Regions from separate parts of the Homo sapiens genome. Here regions 1 and 2 are each linked to region 3. The links are contacts of gene promoters, found by promoter capture Hi-C in blood cells and fetal thymus (Javierre and others, 2016). All regions are on one chromosome and are shown on one strand. The core of a region is centred on a gene start or on the middle of the fragment in contact, and the rest is flanking DNA. Distances in the headings are between cores, read along the strand shown.

Region 1 (4,240 bases), core at 1,219-3,718, 2.5 Mb before region 3:
CTCCGCCTTGGCCTTGGAGCGCTTCTTCTTCTTGGAGGTCTTGGCCTTCTTCTCCTTGGGTGTGCCCGAGGCGCCGTCGTCGTGGTCGTGGTTGCTGGACGCGTTCTCACGGTTCTCGTTGTTGCGCTGCCGCCGTGAGCGCTTGCTGTTGGGCTTGTCAGCCTGCGCTGCCGCCTCGCCTTTGGGCCTGTCCGCGCCAGCCTTGCCGCTGTTGCCCGCTGTGTCGCCCAGCTCCTGCTGCGCCTCGAACAGCTCCACGTGGCTGTCCACCTGCCGCGTGCGGTTCTCCACCAGCTCCACCATCTGGCTCACGATCTGGATCTTCTCGTCGCCCAGCTCCTGGCTGCGGATCAGCGCGCGCTGCACACAGTGCAGCATCCGCCGCTTCTGCGCCCCGTCTGTCTCGCGACTGAAGCGCTCGTAGCACTCGTCTAGCTCCTTCAGGATCTCTGGGGGCAAGAAGGACAGGCGTCACTCGCGAGCAGGACACCGGGACAACCCACACGGCCCCGGACGGGTCTACGGAGAGGGCTGGCAGGGAGCCTAGGGGCCAGCGCACGGCTTGCCCAGAACAAAGCCCACCAGCCACAGGCTCTCCCGGGCCTATCTGTTCCTGTGCTAACCACAACACAACACAACACAACACAACACAACACAAATGCCGGCCCAGCTTCCACAGCGGCAGGAGCCGCTCCAGCCACCCCAGGGAACCTGAGAACAGTTCCCAGGCACGCACGGGTGACAACGCCCGAAGCCATTAAGAGGAAACGTTTAAATGAGGTGCAGTGCTCGGGACCCAACATTTATTAATACTTTCTATTAATGACTATGTCTATACTGCCATCATTTTTACTCAAATGTTTCTATTTGAATACAATTATTAATATACATATAACATTATATAAACATGGTATTTATTACATTTATACACAATATACAAACATTAATAAAATATATTATAAATTATTTGAATATTTCAAATAAAAAAGGTCTTTATTTTCTTTATTTTAATATACCAACATCTAGAATACCCTGTTAAATGAGAGAATGTGTATAAATTTATATAATAGCTCTCTATGATTTAAAGAACCGGGTTAACAGTAAAGGTCCAGGATACTTTGTGACTTAGGTCCTCAGTTTCAGTCCCCACATTTATTCTAGCATGTTATCCCTCTGTATTAGTGACAGCAAGAACAGTTCTGCCACAATAATCCAGAAAACCTAGCTTTGCTTTATTATTATTACGACTTGTTATTATTTTGGAGACAAGGTCCGTCTCTGTCGCCCAGGCTGGAGTGCAGTGGTGCAATCTCGGCTCACTGCAGCCTCGACCTCCCAGGTTCAAGGGACCCTCCCACCTCAGCCTCCTGAGTAGCTGGGACTACAGAAGCACCACTGTGATGGGCTATTATTATTATTTTTTAACTGCAGTGAATGCACTAGCCTTGCTTTAAAGCGAAGCTGGTAGGTTTTACTTTTGCATCTACTGCTTAAACAAAAACATCTTCACATCTGTTAAAGTCAATGGACTTTAAAATGTTATCAAAAACAAAAGAAAACCTCTTCAGTATTTAAATGTAAACCTTCCTGGGCATGTTAGAGGACAGTGTATATGATTTTAAAGTGTAATTTGGCAAGTGTAATTAGGCAATTTCTCAAGAAACAAAAGCTATTAAAAAATCTAGTTGAAGTAAACAGCCTTGCTAAAAAGGCTACTTAAATACACAGAAATTCCAGAGTTCTTTTTCCTCAAACAGTAACCATTAAATTAAACAGTACCAGATTATTCTCCTAAAACCTTTTTGCAGTCTCTTTAAACAAGGCAACAATACTACCTTTTTTTGTTGTTGTTGAAACGGAGTTTCACTCTTGTTGCCCAGGCTGGAGTGCAATGGCGCGATCTCAGCTCACTGCAACCTGCCTCCCAGGTTCAAGCGATTCTCCTGCCTCAGCCTCCCGAGTAGCTGGGATTACAGGCATGTAATACCACGCCCGGCTAATTCTGTATTTTCAGTAGAGACAGGGTGTCTCCATGTTGGACAGGCTGGTCTCCCAACTCTCGACCTCAGGTGATCCGCCCGCCTCGGTCTCCCATGGTGCTGGGATTACAGGAGTGAGCCACCGTGCCTGGCCAACAATACTACTTGTAAACTAGGGGAGGGGCTGAGAGTGGGAGGGATTGTCTAAAATGTTACCCCCTTCCTTTCCAGATCTTATCTCCAAATAGTTATAAGACATATACCTAACACTAGAGTAAACATAAGAACTCAGGCCAACGCTGAAGCTTCTCTAAATGGTAATATTTTCCAGAGTATATTCTCAAACTAAAGACAGCTTTGAAGACTCCTAGAGGAACAATGCAGGCTGCCTGCCACCAGGAGGAAAGCCCTAGTCTCATATAGTAATTAATTATAAAAATAAATAGCTGTGTTCAACGTATCCAAGTAATACCAATTTATTCAACTTATTTATCATAATGTTAAAATATGTGTACCATTTATTTTTAAATGGATTTAGGGTTACAAAATGGTATCACTTCTTTTCATCAGTAATCAAAGTTCTAAAGACAATATTGTCATTTCACAGAAAACTGTATCATATAAATTTAAAATTTAATAACACAGAAGTTATTTTACATCACAAGCAAGCTTCCATCCAGGTGAAGCCTAATTTGTGGGCAAGAGAAACAGATATCCCATCGCAAAATTACCAAGAAGTATTTCTGTTACCTAATATTTCTTTGATACTCCAAGCAAAGTATTTTATCAACAAAGCCACTAAGTACAAATATTTATAAACAGGAACAACACCACTGCTAAATAGGAAGCCATCCTTCCAGACACTCTGCTTTTTCAATGCCAGCAACTCAGCTTCAGACACTACTGCCTTTTTTCCAAACATATTCCACACCAACATTACCATGGAAAGCAGCAGCACATGCAATTTACAGATTAAATGGGGTTGTAGCAACATTTAAATTGGTTTGTCCAATTATTTTAAATGTATTTTAATTTTACATACGGGTTGCACTGAAGTTCTTTATGAAGCGAACTTCCCAGGGGGTGGGTGGGTATTTTTATGATAATGTTTGAAAAATAATTCAAGCAACCTCAAACACCATTTTAAATCGACAAACTAATTATAATCCAAGTTTATGAATTAACATACAACTGATGCCTACTAAGCAAAAGACGTTTGACTTCCTACAGAGTAGGTCTGTGGAAGTCTTTCAGAACTACGCGGCAGAGCTCAGCATTTACACCGAAGTCCAAGGAGCTGTGACCCTTGCGACAGATTCGCTCGCTTCTCGGCGCTCCCAGCTGCGCCGCTCCAGTACTCCCGGGGGGGCAGGACTGTGATCTTTCCTGAAGCCAAAAAGTTCATCACCCTAGGTGAACATGAAGCAAGCAGCAAGCCAGGCTCTCCCCAGCAACGACAGGAGGACAAAGTGGCTCCATGAACTTTGCTGTCTGGACAGCTGGAACCCTGCACCCCGCCCCGCGCTACTTTTTTCTATCGTCGAACGATCAAAGTGGTCTCAGCCCCTGCCTTCCTTCCGTCCGGAGCCCCAGGGTCACCCCACGGGGCCCGTCCGGCCCGAGGACAGCACCTTCCAGAAAAGTTTCTGCGCCGAGGGTCCCCCTCGTGGACGCAGCCCCAGTCACTCACGTTTCCACGGCCACGCGCGGCCCCACCCTCGGGTCAGCAGAGATGCGGCCTGAAACTGTCTCCGAGCCGGCCCCGCGGGTCGCGGGAGGCGGTCCGAACTGCAGCCCCGGCCCCGAGCCCACAGGCCCGGGATCACTGCTACTGCTATAAATCCGCGCCCGAAAGTGGCCGGGCTGAGCGGGGAGAGGGGCCGGGGCGACACCCGCCAGGCCTCCAGCCAATGGGGAGGAGGCCAGCGGGAGACTCGCCCCGCACCCCGAGAGCCGCCGCCTATGGGAATCGCCGATTTGGAGGGCGGAGGCCAGGAGGAGAACCAACCACACCGCAGGGCGGAAGAGCACGGCCCGCCCCAGCAGCGAGAAGAACCAATCCAAGGCTGGAGGCCGAGCGACCCGAAGACGTTCAAATCAACTCGTCCACCCTCCACCCCGCTCCTCCCCGAAAAAGAAAAAAGAAGACAGCGGAAACACAGACCCATACCAGTTATTGCGCTAGGCCCGCCTTCATCCGCCTCAGCGACCAATCGTTCCGCAGGGGAATGATAAGGACATTCCACGAAGGACATCACAGC
Region 2 (4,428 bases), core at 1-2,500, 2.3 Mb before region 3:
ACCTGACATGCCAGGGCTGAGCAGGTACGAAATACCTTGGCATTCCTGCCTTGTCGGAGTCTCAGGGCACCTACGAAGGAGGCAACGGGCCTATTTCCCTTTACAGGACACCTTCAGGACACGGGTTTTAACCTGCTCAGGGTCTCATCGCCTTTCCCAGCCAGGCCAGCGGCCAGAGTGACACTGTCCCCCAGGGTTTAACTTAGAGTCCATTCTACCTCTCATTTTCTCTAAAAAACCCCAACCAACCAACTAACCAAATTCTACACGCTGCATATTTTAAAAGCATTTCAAGGTTTATCCTTTAAAACGGAAGGAGGACCTGGGAGGCCGAAGCGGGTGGATCACGAGGTCAGGAGTTCGAGACCAGCCTGGCCAACATGGTGAAACCCCGTGTCTACTAAAAATACAAAAATTAGCCGGGCATGGTGGCACATACCTGTAATCCCGCCTACTCGGGAGGCTGAGGCAGGAGAATCGCTTGAAACCGGAAGGCGGAGGTTGCAGTGAGCCGAGATCGCGCACTGCTCTCCAGCTTGGGCAACAACAGCAAAACTCCGTGTCAAAAATAAAAAAAAAAAAAAAAAAAGAAGGAGGAAATATTTCTCAAGTAGCGACTGCAACTTCCATAGTCAAATTTTCATTCCAAGCTATAAATGGAGATGACTGTCCACTTTTCAGGACAAAAAGCTTCTTGCAAAAGTAGAAGAGCAAAAGCAAAATCCTCCACTAGAAAGCGCCCCCATCTCTAATCTGTAACAGTGAGAGCCTCAGGACGAGTTCCGCAGACGCTCATTTAAAGCAAACTTTTTCAATGACCTTGAGGGTGGCTGTACTTACACGCGGAGAAGCAAATCGACCGCAGCTGGAAAGGCGCTGGGTCGAGCGTGAGAGGAACACGGGTTTTACCTAAGGGAGAGTGGAAGAGAGAAGGGGGTTCCCCAAGGGCCCCGGCCCCTTCGCCTCGTTCGGGCCCCGCGGCCAAGCTCCTCGCACCGCAGCCCCGGCTGTGCAGAAGCGGAGGGGCGGAAGGTGCTCTCAGAACTTTCATTTTCCACCCTGCAGCAGTCCCGAGCCTCGGCTGGAGAACTCGGATGCTTGCGAAACGGCGAGGTCCAGCAGGGGCGGGACGGGGGCGGTGGGCGGAGGAGGATAGGGCGGGGCCGCGGCGGTGAAAGGGCCCGGGGGCGGGGGCGGGGGCGGGGCGAGGCGAGGCCGCCGCGGTCCGGGCCCCCGACGTGGGCTCCGTGCTCTGCACCCAGCTCCTTCCCGGGCGCGCACACGCGCTTCCTCTCTTGAGCTCCCGGGCGTCCGGAGGCGAAGGTCCCGGAGCGTTCACGAGAATCCGGGTCCCGGCGAGTCCGGGGTCCGCTCCTCCAGCTGCGCCCAGGGCGCACGAGCCGGCCAGCCTCGGGGAGAGGGCGCGGGGGCGCTGGGGGTTCTTACGGGAAGATGAGGAAGCCCGACAGCAAGATCGTGCTCCTGGGGGACATGAACGTGGGGAAGACGTCGCTGCTGCAGCGGTATATGGAGCGGCGCTTCCCGGACACGGTCAGCACGGTGGGCGGCGCCTTCTACCTGAAGCAGTGGCGCTCCTACAACATCTCCATCTGGGACACCGCAGGTGAGGCCGGCGCCGCATGAGCCACACCGCCCTGGGGCTCCGCCGGGGACGGGGGGCGCGGGGCTTCCAGCAGGGCACCCGGCCGCGCACAGGGTCCCGGCCTCGGACAGCAAATGCCTCCTTCTCGGGGTTTCCCACTCGTCCTCCCTTGCTGGTTGGGCTGAGCGCTGCCTCTCAGCCACTCAGTGACCTCAGGGACAACCCAAGTTGCAGAGAACCCGCTGGTCATTTGTGTACCTAAGCTGCCTTTGCTCCCGAGCCCCGCGTTCCTGCTCTGCCGCCCTGGGAACCAGAGACGCTCCTCTGTGGCTGCTTTGTTAGGTATTTTCAGTTTTCACGTACCCGTAGGAACATGATATCCTTTGAGATTCACTTGAGGGGTGAGCAGAGCTGGTGTTATTAGCCCCTTTCTAAGAAAAAGTAAAATGAGGCACAGAGTGTTCCCCCCTGTTGGGTTTAGTCAGGAGAGAGGAAATAAAACTGGAGCCTCCGGACCTCTTAGCCCGGAGCATATCTGCCTTTTACAGTTAATCTTCTGCTTGATCTTGGCTCAGATACGTCATATGGGTTTGGGTTGGAGTGACTTCCGGTGGAAGCATTTTTAAGATAGGTAATGAGTTATTTTTATTGTGTAGTATTTGTGACTTTTCAAAAGTACAACTTAGAGGATCTCAATTCAGGCTTTCTGTTTAACTTTGGAAAATAACACTGGTGATTGTAGCATTGCAATGGAATATATTTCCTTCTCCTTACAAAAGAATAAGATATTGTAAGTGAATGAAGAAACTGGAAATAGTGTGACACATTTTCAATGAGTGTGAGTTTTTAGAAGCCTGAAACTCTGAAAGTTCTGACTTCTTTTATGTTAGCATCTTAAAAAGTCATATACCCAAAGGCCCCGTCCAGAATTCTTAAATTGCCATCTTGGGTGTATCAGTATGCTGAATAAACAAGATGATAATGAATTCTCTCTTTAAAACTGAATTAACGAAGCTCACAGAGGTACTTCCAGTTCTCCCCCTCCCTTTTGCCTTCTTTGATGCTTTTTTATTATTATCCCAGTTAACATCGTGACTAATTTATTGGCAATCATCTTGTGAAAACAATGTCCCCCAGGTAAAGAGGTGCATTTCCCTGATCTTTGCTCCAACTCTGTCTTCTGCCTCAGGCTGCAGGATGAGGTTTACTGAGCTGACTCCCTCACACTGAGCATTTGGTAACGATGGAACACACGCTCTAGAAGTCAAATCGAACCCAATTCACGAACCCAATTTGCTTCTGTACAAAGTCAAATTGAACCCAATTTGGTTTTGTACAAAGCTTTGCCCCTCTGCTGCTTTTGCTGGTTGGCTGGGATTTACTGCTGCCCTTGGTTTACAAGTAGCAAGGTTAATGCAGGAGTGTTATTGGGGGACCCTAACCGAAACCCCTGTAGTGGCCACCGTTGGAGGCAGACTCTTAACACACGGTGTGTTTCTGGAACAAGAGCTGCCCTGCAGTGCTGGAACGGCCCCTGCATCGGAGGGAATGAAGCAGCAGTTTCGTTTCCACTGGCCTCTTGCTTCTTCAGCACCAAGGACGTGATGCAGCCGGAATCCTGATCACCAGAGATTTTGCAGTTGTGCTGATGTGACGCCCCAGATGTCTTGAAGCGTTACTGGGGGGCAGCAGCTCATTTCCTGGCATCCGAGGCTGCTGCTGCTTGTTCGAAAGATCCTAAGGGTGAATTACTAGAGCTCCTCAGAACAGAGAGTGGCCAGGCCCCTTCTCCACATTCCTGACTTCCTGTGTACACACTCAGGCGGCCCTTGCCCAGAGTTGGCAGGGACACAGGGCACCCTTGCCTGCCTCCTCGGTGGCCTGTGGCCTGACCGGGTACTTGAAGGGAAAAGAGAGGTAGGAACAGATACCTTTTCTATAATTGTTGGAAATTCAGAATTTAACATTTAGGGGACCCTGTTCTTTTCCTTCTTTTGCTGAGCTCCTAAACTTTCTCTCCACCCCACAGACATTGCTTTTCAAGTTGTTTTTGTTGTAATTGTCATAACCGAGGCAGAATGGTAAGGACCAGCCGGAGGAGGAACCATTTTGAAAGTTGCTTTTAGCCACACAAGGCAGGGTGGGCTGGGGTGGGGGTGCAGGTGTGCAGAGGGCGACAGGATGTTTAATAGTAAAAACGATTGCATGGGGGTCAGTGTACACCCAATGCCTGGCTGCTTGTAGCCTGCAAGGCAGGCAGTGGATGGAGCTGAAGAGGGGGAAGAGAGTTGGCAGGGCAGAAGTACATTACCCTATTCCATTGACACAACAGTCCTCCAGAGGGAGGTGTGATTATTTGCATGTTAAAGATGGGGCCAGGCGTGGTGGCTCATGCCTGTAATCCCAGCACTTTGGGAGGCTGAGGTGGGTGGATCACGAGGTCAAGAGATCAAGACCATCCTGGCTAACATGGTGAAACCCCATCTCTACTAAACATACAAAAGTTAGCAGGGCGTGGTGGCGCACACCTGTAGTCCCAGCTACTCGGGAGGCTGAGGCAGGAGAATCGCTTGAACCAGGAGGCAGAGGTTGCAGTGAGCCAAGATTGTGCCACTGCACTCCAACCCGGTGACAGAGCGAGACTCTGTCTCAAAAAAAAAAAAAAAAAAAAAAACAGATGGGAAGACAGGGCTGCGCGGTGGCTCATGCCTGTAATCCCAGCACTTTAGGAGGGTGAGGCGGGCAGATCACCTAAGGTCAGGAGTTCAAGACCAGCCTGGTTAATGTGGTGAACCCGTGTCTACTAAAAATACAAAAATTAGCTG
Region 3 (4,830 bases), core at 41-2,540:
TTCATAATTCATGGTTCTTCTCATGTAACTAATACAAAGTCCAGCTTCTGACATTGTAGGAGCTCAGTAGAGGTTGAACAAGCTACAAATGTACACGGATAGGTACCCTCTCCTAAGATGGGCAAGTGGAGGCTCCTCTACCTTAACACTATTCATTTTTCCTCCAAAATAAATTGATAACTAAATTGAAGAGCAGATACTCACAAAACAATATCATGAGACTTTACAACATCACAGATGATTTTAGATATTCAGGCATATTAGGTCAATTAGACATACGAAGTAAATAACTGAATGTTCTTGGGCTAGACGGAACCTCCGCTACAAACTAGCACTGAATGAAATGTGTCAGTTTTGAAAAAGGAGGTTTTTATACATTACACAACCTCTAAGGGCACTTAACAGCTCTAATATGTTTTATCAGGGCCCACTGCAGCAAAATTTATTTTATTGTAAAGCAATATTTTATGCTAAAATAAAATAGTTCTAAAAGTTGTTTCCACCCCTCTTTATGAATAACTTCTCACTTCTCCATGGCGAAAGAGGACTGACCACAGCAAAAATTCGGTGGAAACCAACAGCTCCTGGAACACAAAAACTGGGGTTGTTTATAATCTCTCCACCCTGAATATCTAGCACCATTACTATATAATAATAGGTGCTCAATAAAGGTTTGTTAAATAACTTTATTTTTAAACCTTAAACAGATACTAGAAGAGTCCATAGTTGATTTCTGGTCATGCAACGGTTTATTTCTATATTGTAAGTTATGTATTGTTATGTATTATTTCTGTATTAAGAGAACTGAGACCACAGTAGCAAACATCATTTAAAAAAAAAAACAGCTCTATATAGTTTGCAAAAGCCTATTTTTTAAAAGTTTAAATGAAACAACCAACGTTTTGAGTTGGGAGGATGTCCTGTTCTCTCTTGGGAGTTTTCACAACCAGCGAAATCAGTATAGTTACCACTGTTTTACGTACAGAGAACAAGAATTAGAGGCTATCACTAGCCAGAGCACAAAGTGATCTTAGGTCTCCCTCGAGACAAAATCCACTGGCGTGTGGATCAACTGCTTGCAGAGAGCATCTGCTGCCGAGGCCAATAGGAGCCGTGTGTACTCAAGACCCTAACCAGGATCCTGCAGGTCCCGCCTCCGCAGCCCCACGGGGCTGCCGGCCCCCCCACCTCCCATCGCGAGCCTGGCTGCGCCGGCGTGCTTGAGCCCGGTGACTGCAAGGCCCCGGGTCTCCCCTGCGCCTGCGCGGCGAGCAGCTGGCGGAACCGGCATCTTCTGGCGCCAGCTTCCGGCTTAGCGGCTGAGCTTCAGGCTTGACGTCAGGTGGGAAGGGTGTGGGGTGGCAGGTGGGGGCGGTTGGGAGGTTGGGGGGGGTTGGGGTGGGGGGGGTGGGGGGTGGCAGATTGACGGTGTGGGGGGAGTCAAGTGGAAGGTGTGGTCCAGCAGGCGGCGAGAAGTCTGTGGGGCAACAGACCGGGGGAAGGTCTGTGGGGCGTCAGGCGGGGTATCTGTGGGACGTCAGGTTGGGGTCTGTAGGGCGTCACGTTGGGGGTCTGTGGGGCGTCAGAGGGGGGAATCTGTGGGGCGGCAGGTGGGGGGTGTTCGGGGCGGGGTTTGGGGTGTGTGTGGCGGCAGGAGGCGGGGGAGGTCTGTGGGGCGTCAGGTTAGGGTCTGTGAGGTGTCAGGCGGGGTTTACGTGGGGTGGCAGGTGTGGGGTGTGTGGAGAGTCAAGTGGGGGGTGTGGGGCGTCAGATTGGGGGTCTGGGGGATCAGATGGGTGGTGTCTGGGACGTCAGGCGGGGGTCGGGGGGTCGTCAGGCGGGGGATGTGTGGGGAGTCAAGTAGGGGAAGTGGGGCGTCAGATTGGGGGTCTGGGGGATCCGGTCGTGGGGGTGTCTGGGACGTCAGGCGGGGGGCCTGAGGGGCGTCAGGTGGGGGGGTCTGGGAGGCGTCAGGCGGGGGTCGGTCTATGGGGGCAGCAAGCAGGGTGTTTGTGCAGCGGCAGGTGATGGGAGTTGCCGAGTCCACAGCGCTGTAGACTGCGCCGCATTAGAAGCCTGGCCTCCTGATGCTGTGCTCTTCATCTAGACCCAAGCCCCAGGTCGTGGGACGATTTCTCCCGTTTTTGACTCCCTGGAACTGTATTGCCTGCTTTACCTGCGTACATGTTGATTCTTTCTCATGGCAACCCCGCAGGAAACCATCAAGATCTCATTTTACAGCTGGGATTCTCTGGTTCACAGAGGTAACGGAGCTTGCCCGAGGCCAGGTATTCACTGGGAATCCGTGAAGGGTTGGGGGAGAGTAGGGGGAACGGGCAGAGGAATGATGTAGACTCCTTAGGGATTTTCCATTTTCCGAGAGGGTACAGGGGGCATTGGAGCGGGAGAGACTTTAGGCTTGGAGGGAATTACTTTATTTCTCTTCTTACACTTGGTCTTTCATTAACTTTTGGGATCCCAAAGCCCTTCTAGCGTCTTTGTCTGCTCATTTCTTTTTGCTGAGATTGTCCCAAATTGTCACTAAGTGCTGTGGAAGATAGGCAGCTGTAAACCCTTTGTTTCCTAGGGAAACACAGCTTGTCAAGGGTTGCATGAAGGATACTTCAGTTGCATTCGTCACTTACTCCTTTTTTTCCTCTCTCTTTTTTAAGTGCAATAGCATAGCACTTAATCACCTTCCATAGTCACTGAATAAAACCTGCCGGTTTATTTTCATGTGTCACTTCAGGACAATTTAGTCAGAACTGAATGAATGATGAATCGTTATTGTGTACTAATTGCTTGCATTCATTCTCCTGAAAGCTTTGCTTATTGTTAAAGAGTGAAGCTTCTTCCCACCTTTTTATCTCGTTAATATTTTGCAATATTTATATTTTAAATGTTGCTTGGATCAGCAAGCATTATAGTATTAAAATTATCAAGACTTACTACTTTTTAAAGCACATTTTGTAGATTATCTGATTTTTATCTTCATTCTAATTTCTACATAGTTTTTAACCCCATTTTATACTTTAGGAAACTGAAGCTTAGAGAAATTAAGTAATTGCCCAGTATCACACAGCTGTTAAATGTTACCATCCACATTTGAACTCAGATTTATTAGAGTCTAAAACCTGAGCCCTAACCAGGAACCTCCTCATTTGTCTTACTGCAAATGGAATGAATCAGCTAAAATCCTCAGAATCCAAAAAATAAAATTAGCATGTAAAAATGAATGGAAGTCCTAATCTTTGACTTTTTATGCCGTTGTAATGAGCAAAAATACTTACGACTAGTTTATGGCAATTTTGGAATCCTTGTTATAGGCGTAGCCATTTTAGGATACATGTGTATCCACACCATTACCTACATTTTGTCATTATAAAGTAATTTAAGTCCTTGCCTGGGATTTGTTGAGCGAAACTTTAACTTTGAGACCATGTAGAATCTATAGATATATCTGTAGAAACTATATACCAATATTTGAATATTAAAGAAATATTAGTTAACCTACTTTATTTTACATAGTTTATATAGAAATTGTAGATATAGCATTGTGTACCCTGTTTACTCCCTTGAGGGAGCAAATTTTGGGAGATAGGGCAGTGAACATACATAACCAGGTGTTACAGTCAGTTATGCAAACCAGATTCAGAGAGAGGAAACAACAGTATATTCAAAGATAAAAGTTTCAGGAAAGTGGTCTGTCATGCGTTTATCCCTCGATCTAACCCACTCAGTAGAAGCTGGGTTTCCTTTGTCAGAAATTAGACTGAGAAGTGCACCTTTTTTCTCTATAGGCCACCAAATGGCTGTTGTAAACCATTGCCAGGGCAGTCAGAGCTACTGAATATTTTTAACCAAACTGAATCTCACCCACTGTGTGTCTGCGTGCGTGTGTGAGTGTGTGGTATGTAACCAGACCATAGCTTTCCCTAGTGTGCTTATCCAGGAGTCAACTCTAGGTGTTCAGTAATTCATTCAGCAAACCTCCTACATGTCTGCCACTAGAGCACAAATTACAGCACAATTCCTGGCCTCTAGATACTGACAGTATAGTAAATGTAGTATTGTAATTAGCCATTTGATTTATTTTACTGGATACTAGATAATGTAGCCTTGTGCATGTGTGTGTTGCTCATTTGTTTGCGAATTGGAAGATGGGGAGTCACATATTTTCTGCACTGTAATAGATCTCCCCACTCCCAGCAAAACTTCTCCAACTCCACTGCCTGGGATACATGGTGGTGTGCCAGGAGGGGTCTGAAACCACAGGATAAAACATAGTTTCTATTCATGGACCATACATTTTACTTGAAATCTTTTTTTGGAAAAGTTATTTAACATTACATAGTTTAAACCATATTAAAATTACTCTAATATATTTATCTTCCAGTAGAACTTGTATGAATATTTAAAACTAAAGAAATTTACACTTGTGAAATTTTAGGAAATATTCTTGCCCTAGCTTAGCAAGGTACCCATTATTTCTTCTCTGACTTTAGCAGATACTTTAGGGAAAAGCTCTCCCCTCAGGACATTTTACGTTTGTTTTATTTTGTTAAAGCACTTGGCATTTTATTATACTCAGTTTCCACTACACTCCCCCCCTTTTTTTCTTTTCTTTTTTTTCTTTTTTTTTTTTTACAGAATATATTTTCTTTTAAAGCAGAAACATGCAGTATTTTCCCCTAGCACAGTGTATGTAGCACATCTCATATGTAGTCATTAAATACTCAGGGAATAACTGGCATGGAAATATGAAAAAAGCAGCATACTAATAAATTTATACTTATAAGACAGTAAGTAACTATGGTAAAATAGATAAAG

What was found. Contacts are between HindIII fragments. The CHiCAGO score rates a contact against its expected background, and 5 or more counts as called.
Region 1: a contact is called between a fragment that was not itself captured here and the fragment with the promoter of LIG4 in region 3, in 1 of 17 cell types (fetal thymus). The highest score is 5.2, in fetal thymus.
Region 2: a contact is called between the fragment with the promoter of RAB20 here and the fragment with the promoter of LIG4 in region 3, in 2 of 17 cell types (naive CD8 T cells and monocytes). The highest score is 6.4, in naive CD8 T cells.

The regions. Positions count from the first base shown.
Region 1 is chr13:110,715,438-110,719,677 of GRCh38, reverse strand. It overlaps ING1 (inhibitor of growth family member 1), which reads right to left. Exons shown (of 2, transcript NM_198219.3): 2 at 1-449. Among named protein-coding and RNA genes, the nearest start is that of ING1, 3.9 kb to the right of the region's middle. RefSeq lists enhancers at 1-408, 3,172-3,261, 3,131-3,824, 4,002-4,171 and silencers at 3,552-3,601, 3,632-3,911. The HindIII fragment of the contact is 364 bases long and covers 2,287-2,650 here.
Region 2 is chr13:110,558,544-110,562,971 of GRCh38, reverse strand. RAB20 (RAB20, member RAS oncogene family) reads left to right here and starts at 1,250. Exons shown (of 2, transcript NM_017817.3): 1 at 1,250-1,624. The coding sequence starts at 1,453. RefSeq lists silencers at 1,121-1,570, 1,462-1,651, 1,631-1,690. The HindIII fragment of the contact is 2,254 bases long and covers 693-2,946 here.
Region 3 is chr13:108,211,996-108,216,825 of GRCh38, reverse strand. It overlaps LIG4 (DNA ligase 4), which reads left to right and starts at 1,290. Exons shown (of 3, transcript NM_206937.2): 1 at 1,290-1,342; 2 at 2,216-2,288. RefSeq lists a silencer at 1,088-1,227 and an enhancer at 1,071-1,365. The HindIII fragment of the contact is 5,824 bases long and covers 1-2,825 here.